Regions from separate parts of the Homo sapiens genome. Here all the other regions are linked to region 3. The links are contacts of gene promoters, found by promoter capture Hi-C in blood cells and fetal thymus (Javierre and others, 2016). All regions are on one chromosome and are shown on one strand. Each heading gives the region's core, a stretch centred on a gene start or on the middle of the fragment in contact. The rest is flanking DNA. Distances are from core to core; before and after follow the strand shown. Region 1 holds the start of SLC35A1 (solute carrier family 35 member A1). Region 2 holds the start of ASCC3 (activating signal cointegrator 1 complex subunit 3). Region 3 holds the start of MANEA (mannosidase endo-alpha).

The links. Contacts are between HindIII fragments. The CHiCAGO score rates a contact against its expected background, and 5 or more counts as called.
Region 1: a contact is called between the fragment with the promoter of SLC35A1 here and the fragment with the promoter of MANEA in region 3, in 1 of 17 cell types (activated CD4 T cells). The highest score is 5.4, in activated CD4 T cells.
Region 2: a contact is called between the fragment with the promoter of ASCC3 here and the fragment with the promoter of MANEA in region 3, in 7 of 17 cell types (non-activated CD4 T cells, total B cells, total CD4 T cells and 4 more). The highest score is 16.1, in non-activated CD4 T cells.

Annotation. Positions count from the first base shown.
Region 1 is chr6:87,471,503-87,474,585 of GRCh38, reverse strand. SLC35A1 (solute carrier family 35 member A1) reads right to left here and starts at 1,612. Exons shown (of 8, transcript NM_006416.5): 1 at 1,567-1,612. The coding sequence starts at 1,582. It overlaps LOC124901357 (a long non-coding RNA gene), which reads left to right and starts at 1,641. Exons shown (of 2, transcript XR_007059668.1): 1 at 1,641-1,813; 2 at 2,088-3,083. RefSeq lists enhancers at 744-843, 894-1,063, 1,059-1,965 and a silencer at 1,514-1,653. The HindIII fragment of the contact is 12,962 bases long and covers 1-3,083 here.
Region 2 is chr6:100,879,843-100,883,031 of GRCh38, reverse strand. ASCC3 (activating signal cointegrator 1 complex subunit 3) reads left to right here and starts at 1,703. Exons shown (of 42, transcript NM_006828.4): 1 at 1,703-1,971. LOC107984041 (a long non-coding RNA gene) reads right to left here and starts at 1,575. Exons shown (of 8, transcript XR_007059692.1): 1 at 1,378-1,575. RefSeq lists an enhancer at 1,740-1,859. The HindIII fragment of the contact is 1,558 bases long and covers 1,223-2,780 here.
Region 3 is chr6:95,576,183-95,579,237 of GRCh38, reverse strand. MANEA (mannosidase endo-alpha) reads right to left here and starts at 1,703. Exons shown (of 5, transcript NM_024641.4): 1 at 1,600-1,703. It overlaps MANEA-DT (MANEA divergent transcript), which reads left to right and starts at 1,787. Exons shown (of 3, transcript NR_104136.1): 1 at 1,787-2,145. RefSeq lists enhancers at 1,104-1,203, 667-1,607 and silencers at 1,404-1,463, 1,744-1,833, 1,884-1,963. The HindIII fragment of the contact is 3,606 bases long and covers 1-3,055 here.

The sequences.
Region 1 (3,083 bases), core at 363-2,862, 8.1 Mb after region 3:
CAGCAAAAGTCCATATGTAATCACTTCAAATTGGGCAAATAATTCAAATCACACCCAATGCCAGTAACTATAAAGCTAGCCCACAACTCAACTGGCAGCCACATCTTAACCCTGCATTGTTCCCTGCTTCTCACGAAATTCTATTAGCTCCCATATAGTGTTTGTGTGGAAATGTCCCCCAAAAGAAACTTACAGTTTAAAATGTTTTTTTTCGGTTATGTTTTACTATAGTTTATGGGGACATTATTTGTAATACTTAAGAACTTAGAAATTCTGTAAGTCCCAGATAAATCCTTTGTGGATATTCGGAAACTATGGAAACTGTAGTTTTGTTAGGATTACAATCAAGGCTCAACAAATATGTATTGGCAATAAGCCTAAACCTTTACATTGTTGCAGCTATTTCAAGTAATGATTTGACTTCTGTAATTTATAAGTTTTCGTTCGGATCAATTTTGCTATCCCCATTCCATTTTAGTTATCAAAACAATTCTATTTCTTTTTCTTTTATTTCCTGTGTTGCTACAAAAAAAGGCTTTTAAGATTGGACTTATTTGAAATGAAACAGAAAGAAGACATAAGAGAAGCATATGCAACTAAAGACAATGCCCCTGGGCAGGGCCTGATGAGAAACATGGACCCCGCAACAGGGAAAATAACTTGAAACCCACGCAAGAAGATATTCCTTATGTATTCGTTCAATATTTATTCAAGGGTGAAGCCAAGTGCTCTATGGAGGAAGGGTGGAGCAAGAATCCGGGTGTTGCCCAACTTCTCCTGGTTAATGCACCACAGTCAAAGAATCCACCTCTGGTCCCAACTTACACACACTGCTCAGCAAAAAGTGGTGCGGAGTCAATTAGACTCGCCCTCCTTAAATGTCAATTAGTCAACAAATACGCCTTCACCCGAATGTGCCATCCCTCAGGAGGAGGGAGGTGGATCTCAGCTTCCACCCCAAATAGCAGCATACAGCATTCTCTATAATTACACACAGCATACAGGTGGGAACTGTTAACGACTGTTATCTTCCTTTCGTTACGATTTCAGTGCTGTTTTGACGCCCCAGTGATGTCTTTAGTGGTTGTTGCATGGCCCAGCCGCCGCATGGGATCTGCGCCCGGAGCCTGCCTTTAAGCCTCTGAGCATCCACAGGGTAGGAGGCGCAGAGGAGACCGGAGCCGCGGGGCCAGGGTGAAGAACTGTCCTGCCTCGCTGGGTAATGCGGTCCAGCCCCGGACCCACGCCCTGGCCTCTCTCCGGGTCCGCCGCAGCCCCGGCCTGTCAGAATTCGGTTCCCACCCACTCCCAGCTAGTGGAGGTCAGTGCGGTCTCTGACTCCGACCTGCCCAGCGCGGAGTCAGCCGCGGAGACTGCAGCCGCAGCGGAAGGCAGGCTGCCCTGACTGCCGGGAGCGGCTCCACGCAAACTCCTGACGCCTCAGCCAGGCCCCAGAGGCACTGGGCAACCAGGGTGCTCCGCTGCCCGACAGGGGCTGACCAGCGCAGATGCTCGCCCGCCGCCGCCCCCCGCGGACTCCCCACTCCCAGCAGACCCAGTTCTCACCTCTCGGGGCAGCCATGGTTCCCCGACAGCCCCCCGCGGAACTGACGCCCGCCCCCTCCGCGCCCCCGCGCAGGACACCGGGGACCGCCCCTTGTGGTCATAGAGACGAAGCCGCTCGGCCTAGAGCGCCTCGCCGGCCTCCCGGTCGGCCACGCACTAAAACTGGGCTCAGGAATCCAAGCTACACCCCAAAATGGGGAGAACGCGGATCGAAGGGAGGCCTTCCCGGCCGCGTCCTAGGTGACAGGTGTGTGAAATTCGGTTGGGGAGGTAGTTCTGTAAACTGCGTCTCCCCGCCAGCTAAGGAAGTTGAGTGAAGGGAGCGTTGCCGTCTGGGAATCGTAGTCCTCACAAAGGCGTGAGTAGGCGGCAAATAAGGATTTGGGTTTAGCCTTGGGGATTCACTCCTGTCAAAGCTGTTAGAGAAGCTCCCAGAACTCGTAAAGTAACAGAAACTACTTGCGGCAACATTTGTAACTTCCACCTGGCTCATTATCTTCCACTGTTACCTTGTGTTCTAGATAAGTTATAATTTATTCTACATATCGTTCAGAAGTCTTGTGCCTGTTCCATATCGTCAGCAGTCATCGGTTGTATTTACCCAGCCAGGCATTCTAACTAATGATCTTCGCACAACAAAACGGCCTTTAAAAAATCAGATGTATCGGCCGGGCGTGGTGGCTCACGCCTGTAATCCCAGCACTTTGGGAAGTCGAGGCAGATGGATCACCTAAGGTCAGGAGTTCGAGACCAGCCTGGCCAATATGGCGAAACCCCGTCTTTACTAAAAATACAAAAAATTAGCCGGGCGTGGTGGCGCGCACCGGTAATCCCAGCTACTCAGGAGGCCGAAGCGGGAGAATCACTTGAACCCGGGAGATTGCAGTGAGCCGAGATTGCGCCCCTGCACTCCAGCCTGGGCGACACAGCGAGACTTCGTCTCAAAAAACAAAAAAAATTAGATATATCAACAGGCATTTTAACCACTATAATCTCCACTTTCACTAGGGGATGTTAATTAGCTATCATAATTGATATTAGAAATAATTCATTGGTGAAATAAATGATGTTCAAGATATGTGGATTGGTTTAAAATAATATGAAAATACCTCAGCACTTACAGGAATAGGGATGCAAGATTCTGAGCTGCCCAGCAGCCCACACCTTCTGCAGCATGTTCTTTCCCCAAAATTGTCCTTTTAGAGGGTTGGTTGTATACCATTGTCTTGTTAAATATACATATAGATATATCTGGTCTGTTAACATTGTTGGAACATTTTGCATGCCTTATTAGCATCATATTAATATTGGGAGGGGCTCCCAGGAGACCAGAGTTGACTTTGTAGAGGCAGACATTTGATTAATCTCATTTTGCAATAGTGTTGGACTTTTCCTCTACCTGGTAGTAAGTGTGCTCACTGGTGCTAATCTTCCCTTATTGTAATTGATACAGTTTCCACTAGTAGAATTATTCAGTTCTCTACTGTGTATGTACTTATGCATACATTTAAACAATA
Region 2 (3,189 bases), core at 454-2,953, 5.3 Mb before region 3:
AAAATTTTCTAGAAGTCACATAAAAAGTAAAAATAAAGTTGAAATTAATTTTAACATATTTTATTTGATCCATTATATATTATTTCAACATGTAATCGACATAAGAATTACAATATTTTACATTTGTTTTCTAAGTCTTTGAAATCTGGTGTACATTTTGGACTCATTGCATGTCTCAGTTTGGACAAGCCACATTTCAAATGTCAAGAGACGTATTTAACTGGTGGCTACCCCAATGGATAGGGCAGTTCTAGGTAGTCTATTTTCAGTTCCTCTCTTCTCCCTTAAGCCTCTGGAACTGTGATGGGAATAATCTGTCATGTGAATTCCTAGCACTTATCAGCACCTCTCATTATCACTTGGCCTCCTTGCATTATTTATTTTTGTGATGCATTTGTCTTGTCTCATGAACTAACTTGTAAACTCTATGAAGTCCAGGACCAAAGACACATGTAATCTCAAGACTGGAAATATCTTTAACAAAACCATCAACTAATTATTCTGTTGATGTGTGGCTCCCCTGTACCAAGTCCCTATTAAGTGAGCTTCAGAATCTCCTTGAAGCAAAATTCTGTGGTTGAGGTATTCACACATGCTAAGGTAGGCAATTCTTTGGGTCGTGCTACAAGGGCATCTTCTTTTCAGGATCTTAAATCTGTTCCCTGAAGTTTGCATCACATGAAACAAATCAACTTCACATGATAGGTCATTTCATATTTGGAGAGAGTCCAGTAGTTTTCTCTCTTCTAGGTGAGTCCTGGAAGGTTTAATCAATCCTTCTTCACTTGCCCTGTTTTTGAGTTCTCGTCATCATTTTGCTCTTCCCTGATATAATGCCAGCTTGATTAAAGTCTTCAAATGCTGAACACAGCACTTCAGAGGTGGTCTGACCAGTAAAGACAATAACTGGATCACTATTGGCTGCCTCTACAAAACAGTTCTACCAGGCATCGGGGCACATTACCTTGAGGAAGCGGGAATGGCAGAAGAGAGCCACAACAAACATATTAACTCATACTATCTTTGCATTGTTGGCTTTTAGTCTAGAACTCTTTGCAGATAAACCACACAATTCTTTAGGTTAGTTTTTCTTCGTATCTTCCTATCTTTTCAATCGAGTTAGGGAATCTTTGGGCTTTCTGTTTTTGGAGGAGGTCTTCTGACCGAAGAGCCGACTTGCAGAGATCACTTTGAGGGAACTAAGCTGAGAATCCAGAAAGCTTATGGAAAACAGGCCTTGACACCAGAGAACCATGTATACTCTCTAGCAGCCAGAGGGCTTTGGCTGAAAACGACGATAGCAACTACCTGTTTCTTCATTCAAATTGCTCTCCTTTCCTTTACCTTTAATAGGAATTATTTCCTCCACATATTTACCTTACAGAGAAGGGCGGGGAGAAGACGCGGCAGACTGAAGTAAATGCAGGGAAAAAACTCACAGGTAGAGAGGTAGAGACGGCAGGCCTGGCCCGTTGCGGGCAGCCAGGGTAAAGTGGAGCGTCCCGCTCCCGCCCTGGGGCGCATCCTCGCCGCCGCCGGGACCTTCCGCCTCTGCTCCTCCGAACCCAGCGGACTAGAGGCTGGAGGCGGGAGGCGGAGCGGCGCGCGCACGCGGGCGGGGCAGAGGGCCCGGAGTCGACGAGTCGACGTGCCGACGTTGGCGCTGCAGCGGGGCGGTGACGTGTAGGCCGGCGCCAGCTCCACTCTGTCCCTCCTCGCCGGGTCTGTGCGTCTTTGCGTCTGTCTGTCTGACTGATGGTCCTCACACGCGGTTCCCTGTGACTGGGCGCGACCCCGGCAAGCGCGGCTTGGAGGGCGGACGGGGCGCGGCGATACAGCTGCCCGCTCGCATCTTTGGCCCTGCGCTCAGCTCCTCACCCGGCGTGGGAAGTTAAAGTAAAACCGAAAGGGAAGAAGGCGCGGTGGCAGGAGCTGACAGAGTGATGGGAAACGCGTGAGCCAGGCCGAGAGGTGAGGAGGTGGAGGTGGAGGTGGGAGGACGAGAAGGGTCGCCGCGGCCAGGGGAGCTGGCTGGAGGCGGGGACGGCGAGGCGGGCTACGCGACCCGCCAGAGATTCTCTTCCTGCCTCCGGGGCAAGTCCCGACCTGTCATCCTTTTCAGTGGCATGAGGTCGAGTCCGGGGTCTCGCAACAATACCGCCCATTCCTAGAGTTTGTAGGTGGGGTTGGGGATAGAAAACTTAACCTAAGCTACATATTGTCCAAGTGTTAAGCCACAACGTGACCAGATGAGGTTTTTCTGTCCCATGCATGGGTAATTTGTTTTCTTTTTTTCTGTTACAAAGCCTTGATAACTTCGTTTTCTTCACGTAGATTTGGGGAAAGAAATCTTCCTCATATTTTTCCCCCAACACACTGGAAAGTAAATAGGTAGCTGACCGTGATGGATTGTGGGTGAATTTCGCAATCAAGGAGCCTATAATGTCATTTTGAAATAAATAAATGTGTATGTGGGTGCTAGGGAGGTTTTGTGAGTACTGGGCAGTCATTTCAAATAGGTTTCTTATAAATTAACTTACTCATGGAATGCAGTGTGCTAATGGTATTTGCTATTCTTTGGTTTAAAAGAAGCATAATTCTAGGGGCTGGTAAAAGTTTGATGTGTTGTCACTTGTGCATTCAAACTCATGGTTACATTTTCTTTCTTTCCCTAGGTTAGGTGAGATTGACAGCCATTTTCTCCATCACCAGATTTTATGTTTCATAGATTGAAATCCTTTTTCTGATTCTCAAAGTTCTCAAATGTTGAGAATTAAGCTTTTGGTTTTACTATGGATTGTGCTCCAGTTTATGTTGTCTCTTTTTTTTAATGATGGTTATAATAGTCTTGCATGAGAAAAATGATCCTTAAAGATGCTCTTAAGCTTAGGCTAAATAATCCTATTTATATGAGAAATTAATTTTTCATGGTTCAGCTTTCTTGATCCCTGCTTAACAGTTTTTTGTCATTCATTCATTCAAGTCTTCCTATGTGTCAAACGCTGGGCTAGGCCTAGGAGAGCAAGAGAGAGACAGTCTCTGTGCTCATGAACTTTCTATAATCCAGCAGCCTCCTTTTAAGACAGAATCTTGACTAGGGTTCTTTCTCATGCCATGGATCTGTAGTTAACCAAAACAAAGCTTTTAAAAGAAAAAGTTATTGTCAATGTATATATGTAATTGGCATTG
Region 3 (3,055 bases), core at 454-2,953:
CGACGCCCAGCTAATTTTTGTATTTTTAGTAGAGACAGGGTTTCACCATGTTGGTTGGCCAGGATGGTCTCGATCTCTTGACCTCATGATCCACCCACTTCGGCCTCCCAAAGTGCTGGGATTACAGGCGTGAGGCACCGCGCCAGGCCGCAGAATTTTTTTTAACCTCATTTTACAAATGATGAAGCTGAGCAGTTGGTAACTTTTTCAAAAATCTCTGGGCCAGCAAATGGCCAAGAAACCAATCTAAGGTTAATCACCTAGCAAGGAGCAGATCGAGTCTGGCTCAAGAACTCAAGTTCTTGTCCATGCTATTCTGCCTTCCTTTAAGGTATTAGACAAATCAAATTTAGAGGATACACCAGTTATTTTTGTGACACAAGATGAAAGCTGCTGCTATATGGTTATGTTTTCAATTAAGGATTATGTACCTAATAAACAATGATTAACTGTTACCTACTCCATAAACTGTGCCCAAACTTCATCTAAAGACAGCTTATTCTATTTTATGATCATACATTCACTATTCGTCACACGAATAACAGCAACAGCTCTGGAAATGGTGTTTTCATTGTTGTGATTTTTTGTTTTGGGGGGTGTTTTTCTGCATTGAGCCTGAAAATCCACAAATTCACAGCACTCATGTTTTTTTCAGGTGTGATACACCTGAAATAGATGTATTGTCATGAAAGTGATTTGCAAACAACGTGATACAGTATCACCAATATCTAGGTTTTACTTTATATTTTTGTTTCAAACTACTGCCTCAATACTTTAACGTGAACAGCCTATTCCAGTCCCATTTTTCTTATTTTCAAGTTCTTAATCAACATTATCCCCCCCTTGTTGTTGTTTTATAGCACTTCCACATTTTCTCCTAACACTTATCCGTAGGGTCTTACAACAACAAAACCAAACAGTTATACCTGCCTGTACTTCAAGTTGCTTCTTTGGAAAAAGGAACAACAAAAACACTAATCCAGCACTGTTGCATCCCGACTTAGCAAAGGCTAAGAGTCTAAGATGACAGTGCCAAACACGTTAACAGGTGAACTGAAAAACCATCTCTAGCGGCCTCGCCATCGGGCGGTCTCCTCCCGATGCCCAGAGGCGACAGCTACCTTTCCGTTGCACCCAGAGCCCAGCAGGCCTCGATCCTTCTACTCTCCCGGTCGGCTCAAGGCCCAGAGGCAGTCTGGGGGCACAAGGAGAAGGTGCTGAAAAAGGCTTCCATCCGACCCGAAATTTCCACCTTGTCGGGGAGACAAGGAAAATCCGAGGCGACAGGAGGTACCGTTTCAAAGAGGAGGCGGCGACGAGGCCAGTGAGGTGGGGATAAAGCAGTGTAAAAGGCAGTAAAACTAACGCAGACTAAAACAGGCCTAAGAGTGACAGCCTAGGTTAATCGAGGGGGCTACAGGCTCGCCGCTGGGCGCCACCAGCGCCTGCCAGAGGGGCGCCGGGTCAAAGGGCGCCCGGAGGAAAGCGGCCACCAGATTGGCTGGCGGGCGAGCGCGCAGGCGCCCGCGGTGGACCTCGTGCCTGCCGCCGCTGCTGGCGCCGCCGCCTCCAAGAGGTCTGACTCCTGCAGCTACTCACCAGGGTCGGGTAATTCACTTCTTGCAAGGACTCGGCCAGAGGAGAGGTTAAGACCGCGAACATAGAGCTGACTGCCGCCGCGCCCCGAGCCCAGACAGCCCCTCCTCCCCGAAGGCGCGCGCACAGCGTTCCGGGCGCTTTCAGGGGCGGGACGGGTGGGGGCGGGGTCACGGAGCGGGCGGGGCTCGGGGTCTTCCGGAGCCTCCGGTCGCGGGTCTAAGAGGACTAGGGCGGGAGCGGCGCGGAAGAAAGAGAGGACTGCGTTTTGGGGCGTTCTGTCAGAGGGGAAGGACGTGTGGATTGGAGTCAGACTGCACTCCCGCCCTATTTCTGCAAGTAGAACTCACTGCCTTTAGAAACGGTCTTCTGAGGCTCTGTTGGGAGGCTCTAACTGTATTACAGAGGACACATTTTTGTTTGTTTTTATGTGAAACATTCAGAAGTTGCTTGCATCAAGTGCTTTACAAGTACACTGGTTTTCAAACTTTTAAAGTTGAGGAACTGTTTTGATTTTTGTAAAAATAGAACTTTACTTGGAAGCCCAAGGTAGGCAGATGGAGATGGCGTTTTTAATTTGCGAATGTATTCTATAAAATCACATCTGTACTGAAGTACTAGAAATAATTGAGGATAAGTCAGATGTGAAGAGCAAGAACTTTTGAAATAGGATTACAACTGAAGGTTTCCATCTTACATTAGCTTCAGAAAACAAGAAAATGCTATCTTTTGTTTGGTTACATAGTAACAGGAAGTCCTTATTCAAGCTAGAACTTGCTGATGTGAACAGTTTCATAAGGGCTCTCCTTAAAAAGATTTTGTACACCAATTTTAATTGGGAAATATACATATGAGTATATCTCATGTGCATATCTTAAAGAAGAATGAAAAATGCCCAGGTACCCACTACAGAGCTTAAGAAAAAAAAAATGCCAGTATTTTTGGAGTCTTCTAGAAAGAAGACTCTCTAAAAACATCTCCTTCCTTCCGTTCACCATTATGCTGAATTTTATATTACTCATTCCGTTGTATTTCTGAAAATAGTTACATATGTACGATTCCCTAAAAATACTATTTTCCTAGTTTTATATTTCATATGTGAATCATTCTTCATTTTTCCCCTTTTTTCACTAATTTAGGTTTTGAGAGGTTTTGAGATTCGTCTGTATACAAGTCCATTTCCCATAAACTAGACTGGCACATCGTTACCCTTATGCTATTGTTAGACTTTTTAAGTTTTTGCTGATAAGAGCATCTGATTGCTCTTTTAATTTGCATTTTCCCTTTTGCTAAAGCCTGTTCTTAATTTTATCTCATTTTTTATTAAATTGCTTGCTTTTGAAAATTATTTTGTAGATAATATTTATTTTTTCTAGTTTAATTCTCTCTTGTAAGTTACATGTGTTGCAAATGTCTTCTCTTAGTTTATGGACTGTCTTTCCAGTTTTTATGATGTTTC